Linked DNA regions of Homo sapiens: all the other regions are linked to region 1. The links are contacts of gene promoters, found by promoter capture Hi-C in blood cells and fetal thymus (Javierre and others, 2016). All regions are on one chromosome and are shown on one strand. The core of a region is centred on a gene start or on the middle of the fragment in contact, and the rest is flanking DNA. Distances in the headings are between cores, read along the strand shown.

Region 1 (2,961 bases), core at 206-2,705:
TCATTTCTTCAGCTCCTGGACATTGCTTCCAGCAAGAACCTGTGATTTACTGGTAATGTCAACATTCTGGAAAGTTATTAGATAATAATTAAACACCGTGCAGGTCAACATCTGAAAGAGATCAAGTTCCCAGATCACCATGCAGTAGGCTCAACATTAAGTTCACAGGTAGAAATTCCTAAAATGTAATTGTCTTGAGAATCTACTGCAGGACACGGCTAAAGCTGATAAATAATACACCAATACCGAGCCGACTTCAGGCACCGACCTTCACCTAAAATGACCTTCTCCTCTGATTTCCAGACGAGTACACAATCCTAATGCACACTACAGGCGGAAAACCACAATCATGGTTTTGCCTCCCCCTTCTCTGAGAATCGGAAGGGAAGTTTCTCTCCGGAAAAATTACATTTCCAAAAGCCAATCAACTGGATAACTCGGCAGCAACCCCAGGCTAACTGCACAGCTCCGAAACAACCCTCTTTCCTCTGCCTGTCAACTTCGCTGGCCAAAGGCAATCTGCAATCACCGACTCCCCTGCTAGGTCGGGCCCGATTCCGGGAGGCCGAACGAAGGAGGAATTCATACCAACCTGTCGGTGATAGTAGACTGTGTGCCACTCATTGGGGCCCTTGGCGAGAGGTCCTCCTTTTATCCAACTTGCATTTTACAGTAACACCTCCTCCCCACCCCCAGTGCTCTGGGATCAGGCCCAACTCCGTCAGGGACACAAAAGTCCAACTCAAAACTCCATTCAGTCATCTAGACCATCCGACTGTAAGGGGTCAACGGATGCGGCTTGGAGCAAAACAAGTTATCTCCCAAAACGAACTGAGAAAGCCAGGGAGCGAGTCAGTCCAGAGTGAGTCGAGCTAGAGAGAAATCCTCCAGAAGGCACAAGGATAAACTTCCTCAGAGAGGGAAATCCGCGCGCAGTGGGAAGGGGACCCGGGACTCCCGCCGGGGCTGGGGCGGGATCAGCTCACGGACGGGTGTCGGCTCCTCCTCCGGAGTCTCGGGGCCTCGAACTCCCCGCCGCGGCAAGGGCCGGGGCCCTCCCTCCCGGCTCTCTATCTGGGGCTGCCGGCTGCTCGTGGCCGCAGCGTTGGCCGCGTCTCCGGCCGTCCCGCGCCGGGCTCGCGCGATTCCATGTCCCGGGCCCGGGGCTCCTTCTGTGCTCGCCGCCCTCACCAGGCTCCCGGTGCTGGGACGAGCCGCTGGCGCCGGCGGAGAGGTCCCGCGGCCCGAGGTGACAGGGACCCGGGTCTCTCAGCGCCGCGGACTGCTCCCCATCCCTTTGAGGCCCGGACTCTTCCGCAATCGCCAGAGGCGGCGGCTCCTCCCCGACGCTCCCCGCGAGGGGCGGGAGATGCCCGTCCGGCCCGGCCTGGAAGCCCTGGTCCGGGAGGCGGAGGCGGCGGCGTCTCCCGGCGCAGGGCCGGCTCGCCGGGTTCTGGAGGCCCTCGCGGGCGCGCGCGCAGACAGCGGAGGAGGCCGGCGGCCGTGGGGGCCGCGCAACCGCGGGCGCGCGCGCGGGTTCCGGTTCCGGTTCTGGTTTCCCGGCCCTGGCCGCGTCCGGCGCGAGCTCGCGCTTCCCGTCCCCCGCCGACTTTATGGCCCCCTCCCCTCTGACTTCGGGAAGCCGCCTCACCCGGGATCCCTCCGCCGCTCAGGGCCGCGCTCTCGCCCTTGAACGGACGCCTCCGCCGGAGCCCGGTTTGGGAGAGCGGCAAAGTAGTCCTACGGGGCAGAGGGAGGTGGGACCCGTGCAGCCCCGGGAGGCCCACCCACCTCCCGCGGCGCCTGGGCCCCTGAGTGCCGAGACATGCCCCTTCGAGTCCAGTTTGTACTAAGTCGACTTTCACCAGAGACCGCCCGAGAGCGCCCCCCAGATCCCGAGGACATCGTGCCGGGAGGCTCTTTGAAAATTACCAGCCCCCCTTGTCCTGGAAACTTTTATTACTTAAGGGAATGTATTATCTCTCCTGTCTTCTGGCTGCACGCGTTCTGCCGGTTCCCGGCCGGCGCCCCTCGCTGCCTCCGCAGGCCCCGCTCACCTGGGCACCTGCCGGCTCCGGGGGGAGAGCGCTGCATGAGCCGGAGGCGCAGGGCTGCGGGAGAGCAGCTGGGGACTGCAGCCAGGGTTTCTCGGTATAAATATTACTTTTAGGCTGTTTCTGCCTTGGCAAAATGAAATGTGTTATTTGCCAAATTGATAAAGCATGGTGCTTTCCATGGCGACTTAACAAGCGTGTTGTGGAAAGAACTGGGAGAAGAAAATGAAGTATATTTATCCAGTAAATAGCATTACGGTTCTCTCTGAAGGATTCCCAAACGGTTTTTCGGTTTTTTCCCCTACTGGGTAGAGAGCTTTAGATACCCATCTAGTTTTATGATTGAATAATTCAGTATTTTGGCAATTTAGGTACCACATGTAATACAGTTCTTCAGTTCTGCCTGCAAACATCCAAAGTGGCTATTCCCTTTATCCAACTATTTTCAGACTTTTGAGCTTAAACCTATGTTGGTGACAAGGGATTTCAGCCATTTTGTGGAATCCAAGTAGCAAATCAAATCTAATAAACAGTGGATGTGGAGAGAGGAAACAATTACCTCTTAACAATGCTGTTGCAAAAAGTCATTCCGCAACAGTTCATGAAAGGATCATTATCCCCGAATAGAGGCATGAGCTCACGCTGACGTTAGTTAGAACGGGGGGGAAAAAAAGGAAAAGATAAACAGAGACCAGAGACGACTCTTTATTGCTCGATTTTTTAGGTTCAAGGCACAGCCAACTAATTTTGTAATGTTTATTTTTGGAAAGAATAGAAGCAGATTAGCCAAGGCACTTCCCTAATGATGAGACCAGGACACATTGCCACCTGCTGGTGTATTCTAGCATGACAATTCTACCCTGAAGACTCTTAAATTGAGTGTTTACATGCAACCGGAAGGAATCCC
Region 2 (2,961 bases), core at 230-2,729, 960 kb before region 1:
GAAGTTAGGGGTCCCAAGGACCCTAAATTAAGTACCACTGCTTCAAACAGAAACTTAAATACTTTGTCCTTGCAGAATTAAAGAAACTTCTTCTTAAAACTCAGTTATAATAACAATATTAGGCTTAGAACAACTCAGTCTACCATTATCTTTTTGCCCTACTTTAAAAGTATAGAAAATGATAGCTAATATTTATTGAGAACCAGGTATTATTTTTGTATAACCTCATCTAATCCCTATACCTCTATGAGATAGGTACTTCTATGCTCCCCACTTTATAGATAGGGAAACTGAGGTCAGAGTATTTAAATAACTTGTTCAGTAGCAAGCAACAATAACAGAAAAAACCAGCTGGGATGTACATTCCACAACCTTTCTCTTTGCTACCACGTTATGTTATCTCTCAAGATGTTTTATATGCAGATGAGGGATTCTGAGTACCACCCCATGCTAATTAATTACATTACATAACGAATGGAAAAGCACTCTGTAAATGATCAAGGATCAGTTATTATTTACTAGGTATCAATCATTAGAAACTTTAAAAAATGATAGTGATATAAAGACAAATAACTTCCAGAGGGTTTCCTCTAAAAGTACCGAGCTGCCACAAACTTTCCAGTTTGGAAACTCTATGTACTGAGGTCTTGTTTTCTTCACTTACACCACCTCCAAATCTACTCTGCTGTAACACAGGGATGTCAGTATACATTATTTTTCCTTTTATGATGCAAAAGGAACAGATTATTTCCCTTTTCCTTTCAGTCTCCTCAGCCCCAGATTGCTGTCCCTTCATTCTAATTACGCCGCAGCAACAGAGGCTTGCAATGGTCAGGAGTTCTGATACCGACCAGTTCTTCAGCCTGATTCTTCTGGCCTTTAAAAGAAAAAAACCCTCCCAGAACGAAGGGAAAAGTAAAGCATTCGTGTTCAGCAGCCAGACCAGAATTCCCTTGAGTAAGAGATCTGCAACACCCAACATCAAACACTGCATTTTCTTTAAGCCCGTCCACGGTCGGCTCCTTCAAGTCCAGGCCTCCCTATCGGCCCCGCGATCCCTCCCAGCGCGAGCGGAAGGCCCCTCCGCCCGGACTCCCAGGTGGCGCAGCCCTCCAGGCCCCGAGGTCCCCCGGCCCAGCCCTCGCCGCCAGTCTTCGGGATGCCAGGCTACCTGCCAGCCTCTCCTCTCACTCGGCGCAGGACTCGGATCCGTATGCTACCGCGATCCTACCATCCGCCCAACGCCTAGCACCCAGAGGGCACTCGCTAACCAACCGCGGCGCGGAGAAAAGCCGTGCTGCGAGGACACCTTCCGCCTCGCCCACCCGAGTCCCAGGCGCTGAAGTCTCTCCATCTTCTTTTATTCCATCGCCCCCCGGCCCAGCCCGCTCAGGTGTATTCCGCTTCCTTCCCCGCCCACCCACCGTCCCCACCTGGAGGTGGTCCGCCGCCGCTCCGCACGCCACTGCTCTGCAAACTGTCCTAGCAGCTGGGCAGCCAGCAAGCGGGCCGGGAGGCTGGAGCGGCCAGCCAATCAGCGACCGGCGCCATAAGCTGATATGACGGCAGATCGCGCGAAGGGCCTGCGCGCAGCTCTCCGCGGTCACGTGGGCGCCGCGCGCTCGGCCACGCCCCCTTTGTCCTCTGACTAAGGGGAGGGCGGGCGCCCCATCCGAGTACCTTTGCGGTGGAGGATGCGGTTTCGGGTTTTGCGTTTGTTTCTTTGCTTTCTTTTTAAACTAGCTCTTGTGTCATTCATGGTGGTACCAGGCAGGTTTACGGTGTTTATACAAACATTCCTAGAACGGGTGCCCTGCGTTGAGGGAAATAGACGACACTTCCTTTGACGCGAATGTCTGGGTCGTTTTCTCCCTCAAGGGAGGAGGTGCAGATGTTCCCAAACAGGTGCTCAAGGTTTTAAGACGTAGTCCCCCCGATTTTCTAGCGCTGAATGGCTGGAGGCTCCGCGAGCCGGTGTATGTAGGGGTCTAAATGGTGACAAGATGAGGGTAAACATGGACAGAAACCTTTTCACGATACAAGTTGTTGAAAACCAAGGTTAACGCAGATCTAATTGGCTTTGATTTGCTACACATGAATCGAGCAGCTCCGATTTCCTGAAACAGAGCTGAGCAGAGGAGGGTGGCTTCACAGGCAGAAGAGGACGGAGGAAAGCAGAAATAAGGAACCAAAAGATCTGTCGTTTCAGAGTGACTTTCCTTAAACAGAGATTAAAACAGAGGGGACTGACTTGTGATACCAGCTCAGCAACTTCAAAGTGGCAAACTGGGCCACTTTACCTATTACATAAATAATATGGGGAATACATGACAGAAATGAGGGATTTTTAAGGGAAAAAAATAACATGATTCGATCTGCCTTCAAAAGACTTTTCCGGTAGTTAAACTTCAAATGTACATAGGATACTGGACAAAGTTCAAATGAATTTAAAATAGTGTAGGTGGTTTTTTTAAAAAAGACTCATTATATAAATAAAAATAAATTTTAAAAAGTTTTGAGTGTCTACTTCGTTTAACACATCGTACTGAACACCGGGAATGGAAAGAGATGTTACAATAATGACAAAGACATGGTTCCCAACCTTAAAAAGCTTATGTGCTGTGGGAGAAATGGGCATGTATAAATAACTATGTTGCTTATTACAAGGACAGGAAATAAACAGTAATTGGTGGTATAGGCTGAGCACAGAGACAAAATGGCTATTCTGATGAGGGAAATTAGGGAAGGAACATTGTTTTGCCCAATGAAATGATTTGAATGGACACTTTAAAATGTTATTGAGCATAGATGATAAAACATTTATTAAACGAATAAAAGCTCAAAAGTGAAATGTTATAAGCAAACATCAAATATCCTGAATCTCTAGAATTTTATTGTTGAATATGCCTTAGCTATTACAAGTGGTCTTTATTCTTGGTGACTTAGGGATTCCCAAGAAAT
Region 3 (2,961 bases), core at 271-2,770, 860 kb before region 1:
TGAATGAATGAATCAAGTACATCCAACTGGTAAGCGGTGAAACCAGGATCCAAACCCAGATCTGTCAGACTCCAGAATGTGTGTAGTGCACTAGTATGCTATGAGTAAAAGTAACTCATGTTTGGTCAAATTTTAGTATGAAATAAATTTTTTAAAAATCGAACATTCCTTTTTAAAAAGTGTTTTTTTTTGTTTTGTTTTTTTGTTTGTTTGTTTGTTTTTTGTTTTTTGAGACAGTGTCTCTCTGTCACCTAGGCCGGAGTACAGTGCTGCGATCACAGCTTGCTGCAGTCTCGACTCCCTCAGGCTCAAGTGATCCTCCCACCTCAGCACTGCAAATAGCTGTGACTACAGAAATGGACCACCATGCTCAGCTAATTTTTATTTTTAATTTTTTTTTTTTTTTGAGATGGAGTCTCGCTTTGTCACCAGGCTGGAGTGCAGTGGTGCGATCTCGGCTCACTGCAACCTCCACTTTTTGGGTTCAAGCGATTCCCCTGCCTCAGTCTCCCAAGTAGCTGGGACTACAGGAGCGCGCCACCACACCCAGCTATTTTTTTTTTTTGTATTCTAGTAGAGTCAGGGTTTCACCATGTTGGCCAGGATGGTCTCCATCTCCTGACCTCATGATCCGCCCGCCTCAGCCTCCCAAAGTGCTGGGACTACAGGCGTGAGCCACCACTCCCGGCCTTAATTTTGATTATTTAGAGATAGAAGTCTCCCTGTGTTCCCCAGGCTGGTCTTGAACTCCTGGCCTCAATCGATCCTCCTGCCTTGGCCTCCCAAAGTGTTAGGATTACAGGTGTGAGCCACCACGCCTGCGCTCTTTTGAAATTTGATAATCCCTATGATAAGCTTCTGCTGGCAATAGTGTGCTTGATGGACCTCTCTCCTCCAAACTGACAGTGACGCTGCATAACATAAATTCTACTATATTTCACATTTTGTTTACTGAGATGCCCAGACAAGGTCCCTTGCAGTGATTCTTTCAACTCCATCAAAAATTCTATGAAATCAAATAAAATGGCCTGTGCAAGTTACTTAACTTCTTTGAATCACTGTTTCTTCATTTATAAAAACAGGAAATAACCATTTTTTAAGGTCACTGAAGGGGACTCAAGGAAATAATAGATGCTAAACCCTCATCACCGGGCTTAGTGTATGGTAAATAAACAATAACAGGTTCTTTTAAAATAAAAGTCTTAATTCTTTAGTTGACTGAAAGACTCTAATCTTTAGGGTCAACTAATCAGGTTTGGTGTTTTTTTTGTGTGTGTTTTTTTTTTTTTTTTTTGACTGTTTCTAAATCCTGACATAGTCCAGAGGAGCCAGACTGACACGTGAAGTCATCGAATGCTGATTAAACAGAGGGGGAGTAGGCAGGAGAGCTGCCTCAGAAAGGGCCCCTAGGAATCCACACACAGGCTCTAAATCTAGATGTATCAGGCTCAGAATTTCCACTGAGTTTACACTTTACGACTATAGCAAAGAACAGCTAGAATCCCAGGTTGAAGTTGATGCCATTCTTGGAATTTGTGTTTGGCTCATGAATTTACATTTCCTACCACAGTAAACTTCTTTTTATAAGAGGAATATAGCAGCACACTCATTCTTTTCTAAATTGCTTTTAAAGAGAAATTTGATTCAGTTTATCAATTCTGCCCAAACAACAACATAAAGGTAAAAACACTGATTTTTACTCATGAGAATTTCTTTTCTTTCTTTCTTTCTTTCTTTCTTTCTTTCTTTCTTTCTTTCTTTCTTTCTTTCTTTCTTTCTTTTTCTTTCTTTCTTTCCCCCCAGAGGACTTTGTTATCCAGCATTTGCCAAGTGCTCTATTTCATGTGGTTTAATGAAAGTCTTGGGTCCCATTTTTCTTTGAGATCAGTTTGAGAGGTCCATATTTCTTTCATTTAAAAAGTCAGAATTTCTTTTCTGAATCTCAAGTTTTGAGTATTATCATGACAAAGGTAGACAAGCTGGCAGAGGAAGCCGAAGAAGTTCTCAGAATCTGAAAGCCTAATAAATGGAGATGAATGGATTTTGAATAACAAAACTCTAGTGCCATCTAACTTTGGGAAAATAAAATAGAACCTTTGCTAAATATTGATGTGTTTTGGAGAATAAAATTTTAGAGCTAAATACTAAAAATTTTAAGATTCATCAACTTTTACCCTGAAGCTTTAAGTTACACACACACGCATACACACAAAAATGCAAAAATAAAATGGAACCTTAATGTCCTTAATAACTGGGACTTTATAGCTAAAGGAATGGCCAAGGAACTTGTTTCGCAGCATCCTCGGGGGAAATTACTGGTGTTTCTTAGTATCCTATTGATGTGGTTTGGGTCTGTGTCCCCGCCCAAATCTCATGTGGAATTGTAATCCCCAGTGTTGGAGGAGGGACCTGGTGGGAGGGGATTGGATCATAGGGGCAGATTTCCCCCTTGCTGTTCTCATGATAGTAAGTTCTCATGAGATCTAGTTGTTTAAAAGTGAGTAGCACCTCCCGCTCTCTCTCTTCCTCTTGCTCTGGCCATGTGAAGAAATGCCTGCTTTGCCTTCTGCCACAATTGTAAGTTTCCTGCGGCCTCCCAACCATACTTCCTGTACAGCCTGCTAAACTGTGAGCCAATTAGACACCTTCTCTTTATAAATTACCCAGTCTCAGGTAGTTCTTTACAGCAGTGCAAGAACGAGCTAATACATCTATGGATTTGCTCTAATATTTATTTACTCATTTTTCAAGGTAATCAGTTTAGCTTTTTTTCCATTTATGAAATCATGTGTTTATTTAAAGGCAGTGGCATCAAAGCCCTTGGTTGCTTGCTTTACATTGGTTTAGTGTCTACAAGGAATTACTTTGTTAAATTCAAACTTTTTTCCTCAGGGCAATCCTGTGTTTATATTTTATTTCTTAGTTCTTGATTCCAGTAGATTTTTACTCACTGAATTAAAT
Region 4 (2,961 bases), core at 242-2,741, 610 kb after region 1:
CTTTACACCAACCCCACCCCGGGCTAAACTGGGCACTTTTTCTGTGACCCACCAAACCCACACAATCCCATATTAAATATTTGTTTACGACATCCGTTTCTATGTCTGTCTTCCCCCACCCTTCAACTAGATTGAGTTCCTTCAGGACAATGATGATGTCTCTGTATCCCCAAGCCAGGCACTGTGTTTTGACACAAAGAAAGCCCAGGTTACATTTGTTAAATGTAAAAGACCATACAGTGAGTGGGTGAGTGTTCATGACAATGCCAGATCTGACTACTTCCGCGAGAAACCGAGACACTCCAGGGCCGGATTCCAGACAGTGGGAATATGGCGCTGTCTTTGCCCCTTCTCCAGTGAGGAACCAGAATTTACGTGTTATCAGAAACAGCCACTTCCCCTCTGCTCCTGCCCGCCTAGAGGGCTGGGCAAAGGGTAGAGGGAGCAGTGTCCGGCCAGGGTCTGGGGAGAATTCGGCTCTCCTTAGTGGGAAACTCTGTCTGTCTTCCTCCCCCAGGGGGAGGGGATGGGGATAGGAGGACCAGAGTAAGGGGAAGAGGGAAGGCCCGGAGGGCGCAGTCGCCTTGGCAGAAATCCTACCACACCCGGATGTAGTGGGTGGTGAACGGGATGGGGCGGAGAGTCCCTGCCCTGCCAGGGACACTGACTGGACGATCCACTTTCGCGGGAATCCCACAAATCTCTCAAAACTAAGGTCCTGGAAACTGGAGGAGAGCTCGTTTTCAGGCTATGTTTGGGCAAGGGCGGGGCGCGGGGTGCTTCAATTTTTGGAAAAGGAACCCCCGAAGGGAGCAGGGATTAGAAAAGAAACTCTACCAGAAACCTCAGTGGGCCCGTCTCACCCACTCATGCCCACCACTGACTTCTCTGGCAGCTCCCCGTCGCCCCGCGCACCGCTGCCTCTCCGTGGAACGTCCAAGTGGTGCAGAGGAGAGGGATCTCCGGAGACTGGGTTCTGTTGCGAGCTATGCCACGTTCCGTCCCGGGCGGAACTCTTCTTTGGGCCTTTGTTTCCTCGTCTGTGAAATGGGGCCAGGGTGGGAGCAGAGGGCTTGCAGAAGCCCTGCCAGCTCCCACGCTGCTAGCCGGGATTCTCCATCCCGCCCTCTCCTCCACCGCCGCCCCCGGCCCGGTCCTAACTCCACCCCCACCCGCCGCGCCTCGGCGCCGCCGGCCGCTAGGGGTCACTGCCTGCCTTTGTCAGCGGAGGAGGAGGGCAGCCCGCGCTCCAGCCGGCTCCCCAGCTGGAAGGCGGCCGAGGGGTAGCTCCCGAGCGAGGGTCCTGAGCCGGACCCCGCAGCCCGCGCTCGCGATCCGCCTCTGCTTCGGTCGGGAAGGCGCGTGCGCTCGGGCTCCGACCGGGCCCCGGCGGGCGCGCATCGAGGCCAGGAGGGGGTTAACGCTAACCCCTCCCCTCTGGCTGACATCACGGGCGAGCGGGTGAGAGGCTGGAGCTCGGCGAGTGAGAGAAAGAGAGCGAGAGCAGCGAGCGCGGCTCCACATTGTTGCGGATCGCCGGCACCCGGCAGAGCGGCGGCGGCTGGGACGCGCGGCGCCTCCGACCCGTTCTCCTCGCGCCCGGCCGCGCAGCCAGAGCCACCCGGGCCGCCGACCGCCGAGCCCCGCGCCCGCCGCCTGGGCCCCGAGCCTTCTGCGCCGCCCGGGTGCGTCCCGCCACCCTCGGAGGACGGCCGGCCATGGACGCCTGCAAGTTGGAGCCGAGCGGGAGGGTGTGAGCGGGCCGGGGCCAGGAGCCCGCGCCGCGCAACCGGGCAGCCGGGCGCGCCGGGGGTGGGTCCCTCTCCCCAGCCCCGCTCTGCGTGGAAGAAGAGGGCGGGGACCGGCGCCGGGAGGAGAGCGGAGGAGGCGAAGGGGCATGACTCGTGCAACTTGCGGCGGGCATCTGCCGAGCCTCTGAGCCGGCGGCGGCCCGGGGCCCGGACTGCGGCCGCGCGGATCCCACCCAGCCCACCCCGCCCCGGCCGACGGCTGCAGCTGACCTGGATCCTTCGAGCGCCCGCCGACCGCCAGCGATCTTCCCTCATCTTCCGGGCTGGTTTCTGCTGCGCGAGGAGCGCTGCCCTCGCCGCCCCTCTCGCCGGACCCCCGGCCCCCGATGGCTCGGATGGGGCTTGCGGGCGCCGCTGGACGCTGGTGGGGACTCGCTCTCGGCTTGACCGCATTCTTCCTCCCAGGTAAGAGCGCTCACCTCTGCTGTCCCCACCCCCATCCAATGCCTCCCCGGGGCTGGGAGCCGGATGGCGGGCACGACTGGATTGTGGGGAGTGAAAGGAGCCAGAAAAGTTGGGTCACGGCTTGGGTAAAGGGGGTGGGAGGTGGCACGGCGGAGAAAGAGGTTGAGAAGCCGAACCGCCTGCCCTGCAGGGAAGCAGTCAGATGCACGTCTCTATGTAGCATGAAAGCACTTTCTCCGCTCAGTTCTTTACAAAAAATAATAATATGTAATAGCGTTCTGTTTATTTAATAACCAGCTCTCTGCTCGGGAAGCAGTTTGGAAACACTGCGTGTTACATAAATGCAAAATAATCACCGTAATCACCGTCTTGGGGTGGGAGACAACAGCCCCAGGGGGAGGGCGTCAGTCTCGGAGCTGCGGGTTTGGAGTATGGCGGGGGGGCTTCGTCTCTTTCGGCGGCCCCTTTGCCAGACGGCTCAGGACGCTCGGGCCCCCTCCCGCCCCACACCGCCCCACAGCGGGCGCGGAGAGTCGGCTGCTGCGGCAGAGGCGGCTCCTCGCTCACCTGCGGTTCCTTTCCTGGAGGGTGAGGCCGGGGCAGCCTCCTCCCGGCCTGGCGCGGGACCGGGCTCCCCCTCGGAACTCTGCTCCCAGCTCTGGGGGCTCTCCCTGGAGGAGACACCGCGGGCTTCCTGCCATCCAAGTAGCTGCATGACCCACTTTCCCGAGGGTGCCCCGCGTGT

The links. The method cuts DNA at HindIII sites, captures the fragments that hold promoters and counts their contacts. A CHiCAGO score of 5 or more calls a contact.
Region 2: a contact is called between the fragment with the promoter of SC5D here and the fragment with the promoter of ARHGEF12 in region 1, in 1 of 17 cell types (total B cells). The highest score is 5.9, in total B cells.
Region 3: a fragment that was not itself captured here is called in contact with the fragment with the promoter of ARHGEF12 in region 1 in 3 of 17 cell types (total B cells, total CD8 T cells and naive CD8 T cells); the score reaches 5.9 in total B cells.
Region 4: the fragment with the promoter of NECTIN1 here is called in contact with the fragment with the promoter of ARHGEF12 in region 1 in 4 of 17 cell types (naive CD8 T cells, total CD4 T cells, non-activated CD4 T cells and 1 more); the score reaches 8.8 in naive CD8 T cells.

What each region holds. Positions count from the first base shown.
Region 1 is chr11:120,334,907-120,337,867 of GRCh38, reverse strand. ARHGEF12 (Rho guanine nucleotide exchange factor 12) reads right to left here and starts at 1,455. Exons shown (of 41, transcript NM_015313.3): 1 at 593-1,455. The coding sequence starts at 624. RefSeq lists a silencer at 999-1,868. The HindIII fragment of the contact is 6,393 bases long and covers 1-2,961 here.
Region 2 is chr11:121,291,289-121,294,249 of GRCh38, reverse strand. It overlaps SC5D (sterol-C5-desaturase), which reads right to left and starts at 1,479. Exons shown (of 5, transcript NM_006918.5): 1 at 1,434-1,479. RefSeq lists a silencer at 1,468-1,517 and an enhancer at 1,688-1,737. The HindIII fragment of the contact is 7,130 bases long and covers 1-2,613 here.
Region 3 is chr11:121,198,146-121,201,106 of GRCh38, reverse strand. No RefSeq gene overlaps it. Among named protein-coding and RNA genes, the nearest start is that of SC5D, 93 kb to the left of the region's middle. The HindIII fragment of the contact is 1,326 bases long and covers 858-2,183 here.
Region 4 is chr11:119,727,730-119,730,690 of GRCh38, reverse strand. It overlaps NECTIN1 (nectin cell adhesion molecule 1), which reads left to right and starts at 1,491. Exons shown (of 6, transcript NM_002855.5): 1 at 1,491-2,216. The coding sequence starts at 2,138. It overlaps NECTIN1-DT (NECTIN1 divergent transcript), which reads right to left and starts at 1,108. Exons shown (of 4, transcript NR_120587.1): 1 at 885-1,108. RefSeq lists enhancers at 445-1,305, 1,306-2,167 and silencers at 1,106-1,515, 1,576-1,895. The HindIII fragment of the contact is 12,809 bases long and covers 1-2,961 here.